Linked DNA regions of Homo sapiens: region 1 is linked to region 2. Evidence: promoter capture Hi-C in 16 types of primary human blood cells and fetal thymus (Javierre and others, 2016). All regions are on one chromosome and are shown on one strand. Each heading gives the region's core, a stretch centred on a gene start or on the middle of the fragment in contact. The rest is flanking DNA. Distances are from core to core; before and after follow the strand shown.

Evidence for each region. Contacts are between HindIII fragments. The CHiCAGO score rates a contact against its expected background, and 5 or more counts as called.
Region 1: a contact is called between a fragment that was not itself captured here and the fragment with the promoter of EPHA1-AS1 in region 2, in 1 of 17 cell types (fetal thymus). The highest score is 5.9, in fetal thymus.

What each region holds. Positions count from the first base shown.
Region 1 is chr7:142,361,090-142,366,970 of GRCh38, reverse strand. It overlaps TRB. Among named protein-coding and RNA genes, the nearest start is that of PRSS58, 110 kb to the right of the region's middle. RefSeq lists an enhancer at 915-1,546. The HindIII fragment of the contact is 3,097 bases long and covers 2,186-5,282 here.
Region 2 is chr7:143,405,685-143,411,288 of GRCh38, reverse strand. It overlaps EPHA1-AS1 (EPHA1 antisense RNA 1), which reads right to left and starts at 3,476. Exons shown (of 5, transcript NR_033897.1): 1 at 3,403-3,476. EPHA1 (EPH receptor A1) reads left to right here and starts at 2,433. Exons shown (of 18, transcript NM_005232.5): 1 at 2,433-2,565; 2 at 3,611-3,678. The coding sequence starts at 2,484. RefSeq lists an enhancer at 1,749-2,361. The HindIII fragment of the contact is 7,900 bases long and covers 1-4,185 here.

The sequences.
Region 1 (5,881 bases), core at 2,485-4,984, 1.0 Mb after region 2:
TAGACTTTGGACTTTTGAGTTAATGCTGGAAAGAGTTAAGACTTTGGGAGACTGTTGGAAAGGCATGATTGTATTTTGCAATGTGAGAAGGACGTGAGATTTGAGAGAGAAAAAAGGCAGAATGACAGAGATTGAATATTTGTCCCCACCCATGTCTCATGTTGAATTGTCATCCCCAGTGATGGAGGTGGGGCCTGGTGGGTGGTATTTGGGTCATGGGGGCAGATCCCTCATGGCTTAGTGCTGTCTTCACGATAGTGAGTGAGTTTTTGCAAGATCTTGTCATTTAAAAGTGTGTGGCAGCTCCCCCTCAGATATGGTTTGGCTCTGTGTCCCCACCCAATTTCACCTTGAATTGTAATAATCATCATGTATCAAGGCGAGGGCCAGGTGGAGATAATTGAGTCATGAGGGTGGTTTTCTCCATACTGTTCTCATGATAGTAAATAAGTCTCAGGAGTTCTGATGATTTTATAAATGGGAGTTCCCTTGTGAAAGCTCTCTTGCCTGCTGCCATGTAAGACATGCCTTTGGTCTTCCTTCACCTTCTGTCATGATTGCGTGGCTTCCCCAGACATGTGGAACTGTGAGTCTATTAAACCTCTTTTTTTTTTTTTTAAATAAATTACCCCGTCTTGGGTATGTCTTTATTAGCAGGATAAGAACAGACTAATACACCCTCCACTCTCTATCTCTTGCTCCTGATTTTGCGATGTGATGCGCCTGCTCTCCCTTGGCCTTCTGCATACTTATAAGCTTTTGGAGCCTTCCCAGAAACAGATGCCAGTGTTATGCCTCTTGTACAGCCTGCAGAACCATGAGCCAATTAAACCTCTTTTCTTATAAATTACCCAGTCTCAGGTATTCTTTATAGCAATGCTAGAATGGCCTAATATACCTTCTCTCCACTTAAAGACAGGAGAGGGAAGAGTAAAGAGGACTTTTTCTTGAAAATCAGACACCAGCTCAGCCATAGTCAGATAGGGCAATGAGCAGAGTACTGAGGCCCCAATTCTAGGCCCTAGCTCCTGGATGACATTTCTAAACACACCATGGGCCAGAAGGGAACCTGCTGCCTTGTGGGGAAGGAACAAGGCCCAGAAAGATTCATCATCTGCTGAATAAAGAGCACTTGGGCCCTGAATAATCAGCAGCAATGCCCAGGTAGTACTTGCCATAGAGCTTAGGTGAGAATCTGAGACATGCTGGTTTCAGGTGTGATGCAGCACATTCCCAGCTGTGATGAATATGAGGAGAGGCTCCTTCTGCTTGATAAAAGGAGAGGGAATAATAAAGGAGCCTTTGTCTTGCAGATTAGCTACCACCTTGGCCACAGTGGAGTAGAGCACAAAGTAGGCTCCTGGGGTCCCGGATTCCAGGACTTTGCTGTTGGATTGCATTTCTGGACCAGTCCTGGGCCAGAGGAGAGCCCATTGCCCTGAAAGAAGAGTCTCAGGCCTGGCAGCATTTACCACAAGCTGGCTAAAGAGTCCTTGGGCCTTGAGTGAACATTGGCAATAGTCAGGCAATTCTTGCTGTGGGCCTGGGGCGGTGGTAGCCATAGGGAGAGACTCCTCTGGTTGTGAAAGGGCAGGGAAGAGTGGAAATAACTTTATCTTGTGACTTGAATGCCAGCTCAGTTGCAGCAGAATAGAGCACCAGTTAGATCCCCAAGGTTTCTGACTCCAGGCCCTGGCTCCTGGATAACATCTCTGGATGTGCCTGGGGTCAGGGGGCCTCGTGACCCTGAAGGGAAGGGTATAAGACTGGCTGACTTTTCCACATGCTGATTGTAGATCCCTGGGGCCTTGAACATAGGCAACAAGCAAGGCAGTGGTTACTGTGGACCTTGGGTGAGACCCATTATCATGCTGGCTTTTTCTGACCTAGGATCTCAGTGATGGCAGCCACAGGGAGCTTGTACCACTACTCCTCAGTTCCAGGTAGTTCAGCAGAGAGAGAGACAGAGATGTTTGTTTGAGTGAAAGTGAAGGAAGAGAACAAGAGTCTCTGCCTGATAATCCAGAGAATTCTTTCAGATCTTATCCAAGACCACCAAGGCAGTATATCTGTGAGTCCACAAGGACCACAGAATTACTGGACTTGGGGTGCTCCCTAATGCAGATAAGGTTTCAGAGATAGAAAACTTAGATTACAACACCCAAGTACATTCAAATACCTGAAAAGCTTTCCAAGGGCGAGTACAAACAAGCCCAGACTGCAAAGACTACAATAAATACTTAACTCTTCAATGCCCAGACACAGGCAAACATCCACAAGTCTCAAGACCATTCAGGAAAACATGACCTCACCAAATGAACCAAATAAAGCACCAGAGGCCAATCCCAGAGAGAGAGAGAGAGATGTGTGACATTTCAGACACAGAACTCAAAATATCTGTTTTGAAGAAACTCAACAAAATTCAAGACAACACAGCCAAGAAATTCAGAATCCGGAAGAGAGCTAAATAATTAAAAACAATCAAGCAGAAATTTTGGAGCTGAAAATGCAATTGACATTCTGACGAATGCATCAGGGTTTCAACCTCACAATTGATGAGGCAGAAGAATCAGTAAGCTTGAAGACAGGCTATTTGAAAATACACCACCAGAGGAGACAAAAGGATAAAAATTAATGAAGCACAAATACAAGATCTAGAATATAGCCTCAAAAGGGCAACTTTAAGAGTTATTGACCTTAAAGAGGAGGTAGAGAGAGAGATAGGGCTGAAAGTTTATTCAAAGCTATGATAATAGAGAAATTCCCAAACTTAGAGAAAGATATCAATATTCAAGTAAAAGAAGATTATAGAATACCAAGCATATTTAAGTCAAAGAAGACTACATCAAGACAATAATCAAACTTCAAGGATAAATCAAAATTTCAAGGATAAAGAAAGGATTCTAAAAGCAGCAAAAGAAACAGATAACATACCATGGACCACCAATATAGTCTAGCAGCAGACTTTTTCAGTGCAAATCTTACAGGTCATGAGAGAGCAGCATGACATATTTAAAATGCTAAAAAAAAAAACGTTAATACTAGAATAGTGTACTCAGTGAAAATACCCTTCAAACATGAAAGGGAAATAATGACTTCCCCAGACAAACAAAATATGAGGGACTTCCTCAACACCAGACCTGTCCTAGAAGAAATGCAAAAGATAATTTTTCAGCATGAAAGAAAAGAACATTAATGAGAAATAAGAAATTATCTGCAGGTGCAAAACTAACTGATAATAGTGCGAAGAAAAACACAATATTATAATACTGTGATTACGGCGTGTAAACTACTTATAAAGACTAAAAGATGAACCAATTAAAAAAAAAACTACAGCTTTTCAAGACATAGACAGTGCCTAAGATATAAATAGAAATGACACAAAGTTGAAAGGTAGGTGGACAATGTTAAAATATAAGATTTTTACTAGTTTTCTCTGTTTTTTTTTGGTTTGTTTGCTTAGGCAATCAGTGTTATGTTGTCATCAGTATAAGATATTATTTGCAAGCCTCATGCATAGTAATTTTAAATACAAACATATGCAACGTAGTAACTTTAAATACAAACACATACAACAGATACACAAAAATAACAAACAAGAAATGAAAACACGTTATCAGGGAAAATCACCTTTACTAAAAAGAAGACAGGAAAGAAGAAACAAATGAAGAGAAGACCACAAAACAACCAGAAAACAAATACATGGCAGGAGCCAGTACTTAGTTATCAACAATAACATTGAATGTAAATGATGTAAACTCACCAATCAAAGGACATAGAGTAGCTGAATGAATATAAAAATAAGACCCAATGATCTGTCACTTACAAGAAACACACCTCCCCTAAAAAGACATATAGATTGAAAGTGAAGAGATAACAAAAAGATGTTTCATGCACGTGAAAACCAGAAAAGATCAGGAGTAGCTATATCTATATCAGATAAAATATATTTCAAGACAATAACTATAAAAAGAGGCAAAGAAGTTTACTATATAATAATAAAAAAGCTAGCACAAACATATGTATGGAAACTGCCACATTGCCATTATTGGCACATGCTTCTGAGCATGTACCCCAATGCCACCATTTGGAAAAAGTACTTTGGCTGGCATTCCCCATTGCAGTGTTGTTGCCAGTGGAATTGGGAACGCCTCAGCCCCTCTGGTGTAGCAGGTGCTTTAACCTTAAGGGGTCAAAAACCAAAGCTCTGGGCTTAATTCCAGCACCACAGGCCTACAACACGCAGCCCAGAAATACTGAGCTGAATCTTAGCCCCCTGAAATATTCCATAAATGAAGCCAGTCTCCTGAACCCAGCTTATGTAACAGTGAAACCCTCAAGGGCATAGAATATAAAAGCAAAAAACCCTTCCAAAAGACATCAGCTTAAAAGATTAAAGAAACCTCAGACCACAGAGATGAGAAAGAACCAGTGAAAGAACTCTGGCAACTTAAAAAGTCAGAGTGCCTTCTTAGCACCAAATGAACACACTAGCTTCCCAACAATGATTCTTAACCAGGCTGAAGCGGCTGAAATGATAGACATAGAATTCAGAAACAGGTTAGAAACAAACACTATCAAGATTCGGAAGAAAGCTGAAAGTCAATCTAAGGAATCTGATGAATCCAATAAAATGACACATTAGCTGAAAAATGAAATAGCTATTTTATGAAAGAACAAAATTGATCTGATAGAGCTGAAAAACTAACCTCAACAATGTCATAATGTAATCAGAAGTATTAACAGCATAATCAATGAGAAAATAATCTCAGAGCTTGAACACTTATTTTTGAATCAATTCAGTCAGACAAAAAAAGAATGGAAAAAAAAGAAAAATGAATGAAGTAAACCTCTGAGAAATATGGGATTATGTAAAAAGACCAAACCTATGACTCATTGATGTCCCTGAAAGAGGGGGAGAGAGAGTAAGCAACATTGAAAACATATTGGAGGATATTGAGCACAAAAAATTCCCTAACCTTGCTAGAGAGTTTAATATTCAAATTCAGGAAACACGGAGAATTCTTATGAGATACCATAAAAGACAACCACCCCCAAGACACATAGTCATCAGATTCTCCAAGGTCAACATGAAAGAAAAAATATTAAAGTCAGCTAGAAAGAAAAGGCAGGTCACCTACAAAGGGAATCCCATCAGACTAACAGCAGGTTTTTCAGGAGAAACTTTACAAGGCAGAAACAATTGGGAGCCAATATTCAACATTCTTAAAGACATGAAATTCCAACCAGTATCCCTATATATTTCATATCCAGCCAAACTAAGCTTCATAAGGAAAGGAGAAATAAGATCCCTTCAGACAAGCAAATGTTCAAGGAATTTGTTACTACCAGACCTGCCTTACAAGAGGTCCTGAAGGGAGTCCTAAACATAGAAATGAAAGATCACTAACAGCCACCAAAAAACACACTCAAGTACATAGACCATTGACATTATAAAGCAACTACACAATCAAGTCTGCATAACAACCAAGCAAGAACACAATGGCAGGATCATATCTACACGTATTAATATTAACCTTGAATGTAAACAGGCTAAACACAGCACATAAAAGTCGTTTATTATTAAAAGAGCTGCCAGGCGCCGTGGCTCACGCCTGTAATCCCAGCACTGTGGGAGGCCAAGGCGGGCGGATCACCAGGTCAGGAGATCAAGACCATCCGGGCTAACACGGTGAAACCCCGTCTCTACTAAAATACAAAAAATTAGCTGGGCGTGGTGGCGGGCACTTGTAGTCCCAGCTACTCGGGAGGCTGAAGCCGGAGAATGGCGTGAACCCAGGAGGCGGAGCTTGCAGTGAGCCAAGATCGCGCCACTGCACTCCAGCCTGGGCGACAGAGCGAGACTCCATCTCAAAAAAAA
Region 2 (5,604 bases), core at 2,227-4,726:
GAACAGAGACTAAACTTGAAGATGTGCCTCCTCTCATGACAAACTAACCAGAAAATGTCAAATCAAGATAATCCTGAAAGGAGACAGAAAGTGGACATTCATTCCCCATATGCAGAGACTTTCAGACCAGGATAAAGAGCCTATCCTAAAACAAAAAGCAAGACTTTTTTTTCCAGGGTTCTAGACTCCATGTCTCACTGCATGGAGCAGTCTCCCCCACTCCACACACCCACCCCCCACCCCCCACCCTCTGGAGTCCCAAGGGTCTTGTAACTTTAACAAACTGCAGCAGCAAGCACATGCATTACCTCACCACAGTCTGGCTTATGTCCTAGCAGCAATTGTCCAACGCTTGCTCCATTTCCCCCCTTCTGTTGGCTTTGTACCCTTCGCCCATTCCTCCCTGCTGAAATCACAAAGCTCTGACCCCCGCCAGCCAGCGTGAGCCTCCTCCTCCTTCCTGGAGTCTTTAACATTAGAAAAGAGGCCTCTGGTGCAGAGCAATGTGTGTCAGATGGCCCCTCTGTATACACATTTTAAAAGCATGTAAGTGTGGGAGTAGAGGGAGAGAGGGAGGGAAAAATACACGATGGTGTGTACACAGCGAGGAAGCAATCCTGGGAGGACTTACAAGAAACAGTTGATGGTGGTTAACTTGGGGAACAGAAATTAGAGTGTTGGAGGGCAGAGGGTTCTACTTCCCATTTTGTTTCTGTATGTTCAACATGAATTTCCTAACCAATGTACATGAATTACATTTATTTATGCAAATAAGGATAGTCTGAGCCAAGAACTGATGGGCCGTGTTTGTCATATACGTATCTGCATAAGAAAGCAAAAAAAAAAAACAAAAAACCTGAGAAGCATTACATTTTGAAAATGAGAAAAAGCACCTATAATCCACCACCTCCCTTCATTCACAGTACCGAAATGTGCAACAATGTAAATGATAGAAAAATTATGAACAATTTACCCAGATGGGATGGAGCGAAAGAAGGAGGGGCCAGGAGTGGACCCCCAGCCTCTTTAGTAAATGCATCACTCCCCTTTGAGCTACTGTGATCCCTGTGTGTACCTTGCCTGGGGTCCACTCCTGCCCGCCATTTCAATCATTTGTGCAATTATTTATGTCTCAACCCCCAGCATCCCCAAATTAATAGCTTATATAGGGCAAGACATTGTCCTTCTGTTCTTAGGTGCTTCTAGAGCTTCCTGCATGCATAGCAGAAACTGAACAAACATTTACTAAATAGAATATAAGAAAGTCTCGGCAGAGCGCAGTAACTCAGGCCTGTAATTCCAGGACTTTGGGAGGCAGAGGCAGGGAGATCACTTGAGATCAGGAGGGATCACCTAAGGTCAGGAGTTCGACACCAGGCTGGCCAACATGGTGAAACCCCGTCTCTACTAAAAATAGAAAAATTAGCTGGGTGTGGTGGTGCACGCTTGACGCTTGTGATCCCAGTTACTCGGGAGGCTGAGGCAGGAGGATCGTTTGAACCAGGGAGGCGGAGGTTGCAGTGAGCCAAGATTGCACCACTGCACTGCAGCCTGGGCCACAGAGCGAGACTCCATCTCAAAAAAGAAAAAGAATATAAGGAAGTCCGCAAGAAAGTGAGAGGGCACGTGGTTTGACACCACTAAGATGGGTTAAAATATCCTTCCCTGCCACCTGTGGCTGGAACCTTAACCAGATATTCATGTCTGCTGTGTAAGTGCATGTCAAGGTTCAAACTCCTTTTCTTGTTTACCCAGCCCTGGCCCACACCTGCCTTTCTGCCCTGATTCCCAAGACAAATCCTGCGCCCCAGCAGTCAAACTGGTCCATTCACCACTCCCTGGGCGCACCTTGAGGCTCCCTGCCTTCAGGCCCTTGCTGGTGCCTTTCCCAATCTCTGCCACTGAAAACCCAGGTCACACCAGCTCTCCCTGAAGACTCAACTAATGTGCCCCGATGACTGGGCTTGCTTCCTCTTCTAATCTCCAGATGCTTCACTGCAGGTTGTACCCCACCTTGCATTGTGGTCATCTAAGCCTCCCCTGCTAGAGGGTGAAGATATGACTCTTACCCCTTGCCTTCCCCGGCCCTATTACCCAGCTCTGGGGCCTGCACAAAGACAGAAAGAGGAATATAGGAGTGTAATTCAAGTCAGAGGTAGAATTAGGTTAAAAGCTGGATCAAGATTGGGTTGAGTTTAGGATTAGAATTGGGAAAAGGTTCGTCAATTCTTAATCCCACCTACTAGGCGGCGCCCGCAGTCTCATTCGGGTCAAGACGCCTCCGGTTCTTGAATTTGATTACCAGTCTAGCAAGTTTCTTTCCTGCCCTACTGTCCCTTTAAGGAGGTGAACCAGGTGAGGCCGGGACTCCGCCCCCGGCGCTGGCCCCGCCCCCCGCCCCCGCCCGGCCCGCCCGGCTCTCCTAGTCCCTTGCAACCTGGCGCTGCCATCCGGGCCACTGTCCCAGGTCCCGGCCCGGAGCTATGGAGCGGCGCTGGCCCCTGGGGCTAGGGCTGGTGCTGCTGCTCTGCGCCCCGCTGCCCCCGGGGGCGCGCGCCAAGGAAGGTACCGACCCCCGCCCCCGCGCCCCCAACCCCCGCGCCCCGCCCCTTCCCGGGGCCCGGCCAGCACCCCCCTGCAGAAGCCGGCATTCCTAGGGGCCATGTTCCCCGAGACCCTCGCCAGCTCTCTCGCTGTGCCCGACCGCCAGGCTATCGACTGGCCAGGCCCATCTTTGGTCTTTAACCCCAAGCGGCTGCTCTCCCGGGTCAGTCACCCCCACTCCCGCAGGCCAGCAATCTGCTCCTGGGAGTGGGGAGGGAATTCCGGACCCTTGCCAGGAAGTAGCACCTGCACCCGCACCCCTGCCTGCATTCCCAGACAGTCCCAGCTTCAGGTGCCCACCCCAGAGATCTGAGCCCTTGGAAGTTGAAGGTGGGAAGTCGCCTCCTGCCAACCTAGGCCAGGGACAGAGGGAGCTGCCTCCGGGAGAAGGGTTAGGACTGACGCCACAGGGGTTCCCAGTTGTCCGAGTCGAATATTCCATGTGAAAGTTGGAACACCCTCTCCGGCCTTACTCCCCCCCACTTCCCAGGCAGGTAGCTGTGCCTCTTATCCCCACTTCACGGCTCTGATCACTGGCCAGGTCAGGCCAAAGCAGGCTTCGGACAGTGGAGGTGAGCCTCCCTACCCAGGAAACCCCTTCTGAGGTCCCCGGTCCACCCTGCCCACTCCTGGCTAGCAGAGGTGAGCTCCTCCTGCCCTCCACGCGTTCCAATCCTGCAGCTGATGGGTGTCCCAGGACGCAGCAGCCTGGGTAACTGAGCGTCTCGTGGGGCTGCTCTTCTTGCATTGACTTTGGTCAAAGACCCAGCGCCCCAACCCTTGTCCCACTCTACCTGCCTTCCTTCACACACACAAAGAAGAGTGAAATCCCTGGAGCTCTTCACTCCTCAGTCCTGAGCCCTTTTTCTCCCCTAAGCCTCAGGAAGTCACAGCTTTTAGGAACAGGATGTTGCAGCCTGGGGCTGAGGCCCCAGAATGATTAATGTGGGCTGCAGGGGCACCTCCTCCCCCAGAGGTGACAGACTTCTTTTCTCCCCACTTTCAGTTACTCTGATGGACACAAGCAAGGCACAGGGAGAGCTGGGCTGGCTGCTGGATCCCCCAAAAGATGGGGTAAGTGTCGGAAGAGGGAAGGATCTTGGAAAACTCCTGAAGGCCAGTGGGAAATGGGGTGGAGAGGTGGGTGGAGGAACAGAGAAAAGAGCAGGAAAAACTGGAAGTGTCTCCTCAGGGAGGGGGAGAGGAGGCTGAGTCAGAGCCTCCTCAATGGGACAAGGGGTGGGGGGGTCAGACTTCACCTCAAGATGAACGCTTGAATGGCCTGGCTCCTCCAGTGAATACTTGGGAATATTGTGAATACAAGCTGATACTTGTGAGGGGGAGAGGAGCTCACATACCCGGGGAGAGAATGCACCATGCTGGGGATGGTTGAAGGCTGAGACCAGTGCTTTGCTTGGGGAGGGATAGAAAAGGCAGAAAAGCATCCTCAATCTGAGATCCATTCATCCCAATGAAGTTGCATTGATAGGTTTCAGGGGGTGGGGAAACCCCATGAAAGTGTACTCTAAATTCTGTATATGTAAGCGGGCATTTTTTTTTCTGGAGAGACCAGCCAAAGCTTTCATCAAATTCTTCAAAGGGTCTTTGACTCCTCCGAAGTTAAAAGCTGCTCCCCTAAAGGTTTCTGAGCCCTTAGCTCATCCTCCACACCTCCTCAGGCTGACTGCGTGCACACCATGCATTCCAGCTGTTTGAAAGTGTCAGAGCTTGTTCCAGTTCCCTTCCTTCCTTGGATGTTCCTAAGACTCAGTGAACAGGTTGTGAGGTGGGTCTGAGAGAGCATATTCAGACTCAAATGCAGAGAGCAGCTCTTATGATGTACAAAAAACCAAACTCAGTTTTTTCCTACTGCACTCTCAACACAAATCACTTCGGTGACCTGTGGTCACCAAAATGCGTGTAGGGATTCCTCCCGCCTGCAGTCAGTTCTCTCTGGCAGATTCTTCAGTGGACAGTAGCTGAGTGTCCTCTAATCTTATTCAGTTCTTACACTATCTACCTGGAGATAGCCTCAGGTTGAGGGCTCAGCCCCACAAGACTGCCCTCCTCTAGACAACAATCACAAGTAACATGTTGTCACCTATACTTCTGTTCCATCGGCTGTAATCAGGTTTACCTGACCCTCCTCCTCGGGTTCAATTAGTTTGCTAGGATGGCTCACAGAACTCAGGGAAACATTGACTTGGATTTACTGGCTTACTATAACGGTTATTACAAATGGTACCATGAACACCAGATGGAATAGCTGCATGGGGCAAGGTATATGTGAAGGAGGCGAGCCACCCTGCAGGGACCTAATCATGTATGGCCATCCAGAAGCCCTCCCAACCCCATCCTTCTGGGCTTTTATGGAGACTTCATTACATAGGCGTGATTAATTAGATCATTGCCCACTGGTTATCAGCTCAACCTTCAACCTCTCTACCTTCCCTGGAAGTTGGGGGTGGGGCCGAAAGTCCCAACTCCAATCACAAGGTTGCCTTCTGCCACCCAGGCCTCCCCCACCCCAGTCTAGTTCCCATCCCCGGCAGTCAGCTCACTAGCATATAAAAAGACATTTGTCACTTCAGGGATTTTGAGGGCTTTAGGGGTTGTTTGCCAGGAAATGTGGACAAAGACCAAATATATATTTTACAATTCACAGCACCCTTTCTGCCAGCAGCACAGCTGGTCACAGAACCACTTAGGGGGCTGCCTAAGTTACTGGAGCATCTACAACTCTGGCTCTGGAACCCCTTCTCTCAGGGTTTCCTTCCTTACCCCAGTACTTGAGACTTCAATCCAGCCCCTGTTTCTGGGGTCAGGGTTACTTGCTTTCTTTCCCTCTGGGTCCTACAGTCCTGGCTCCGTTCTCTGTTCTCCTACAGAGTAGCCTGTAATTAGAGCTAATAGACTAAACCATAGTGGATCCTCCAGGAGGGGCCGTTTGGAAGATCCAGCCCTAATAGTTGACTTATCTCATAAATCAGCTAATCACCC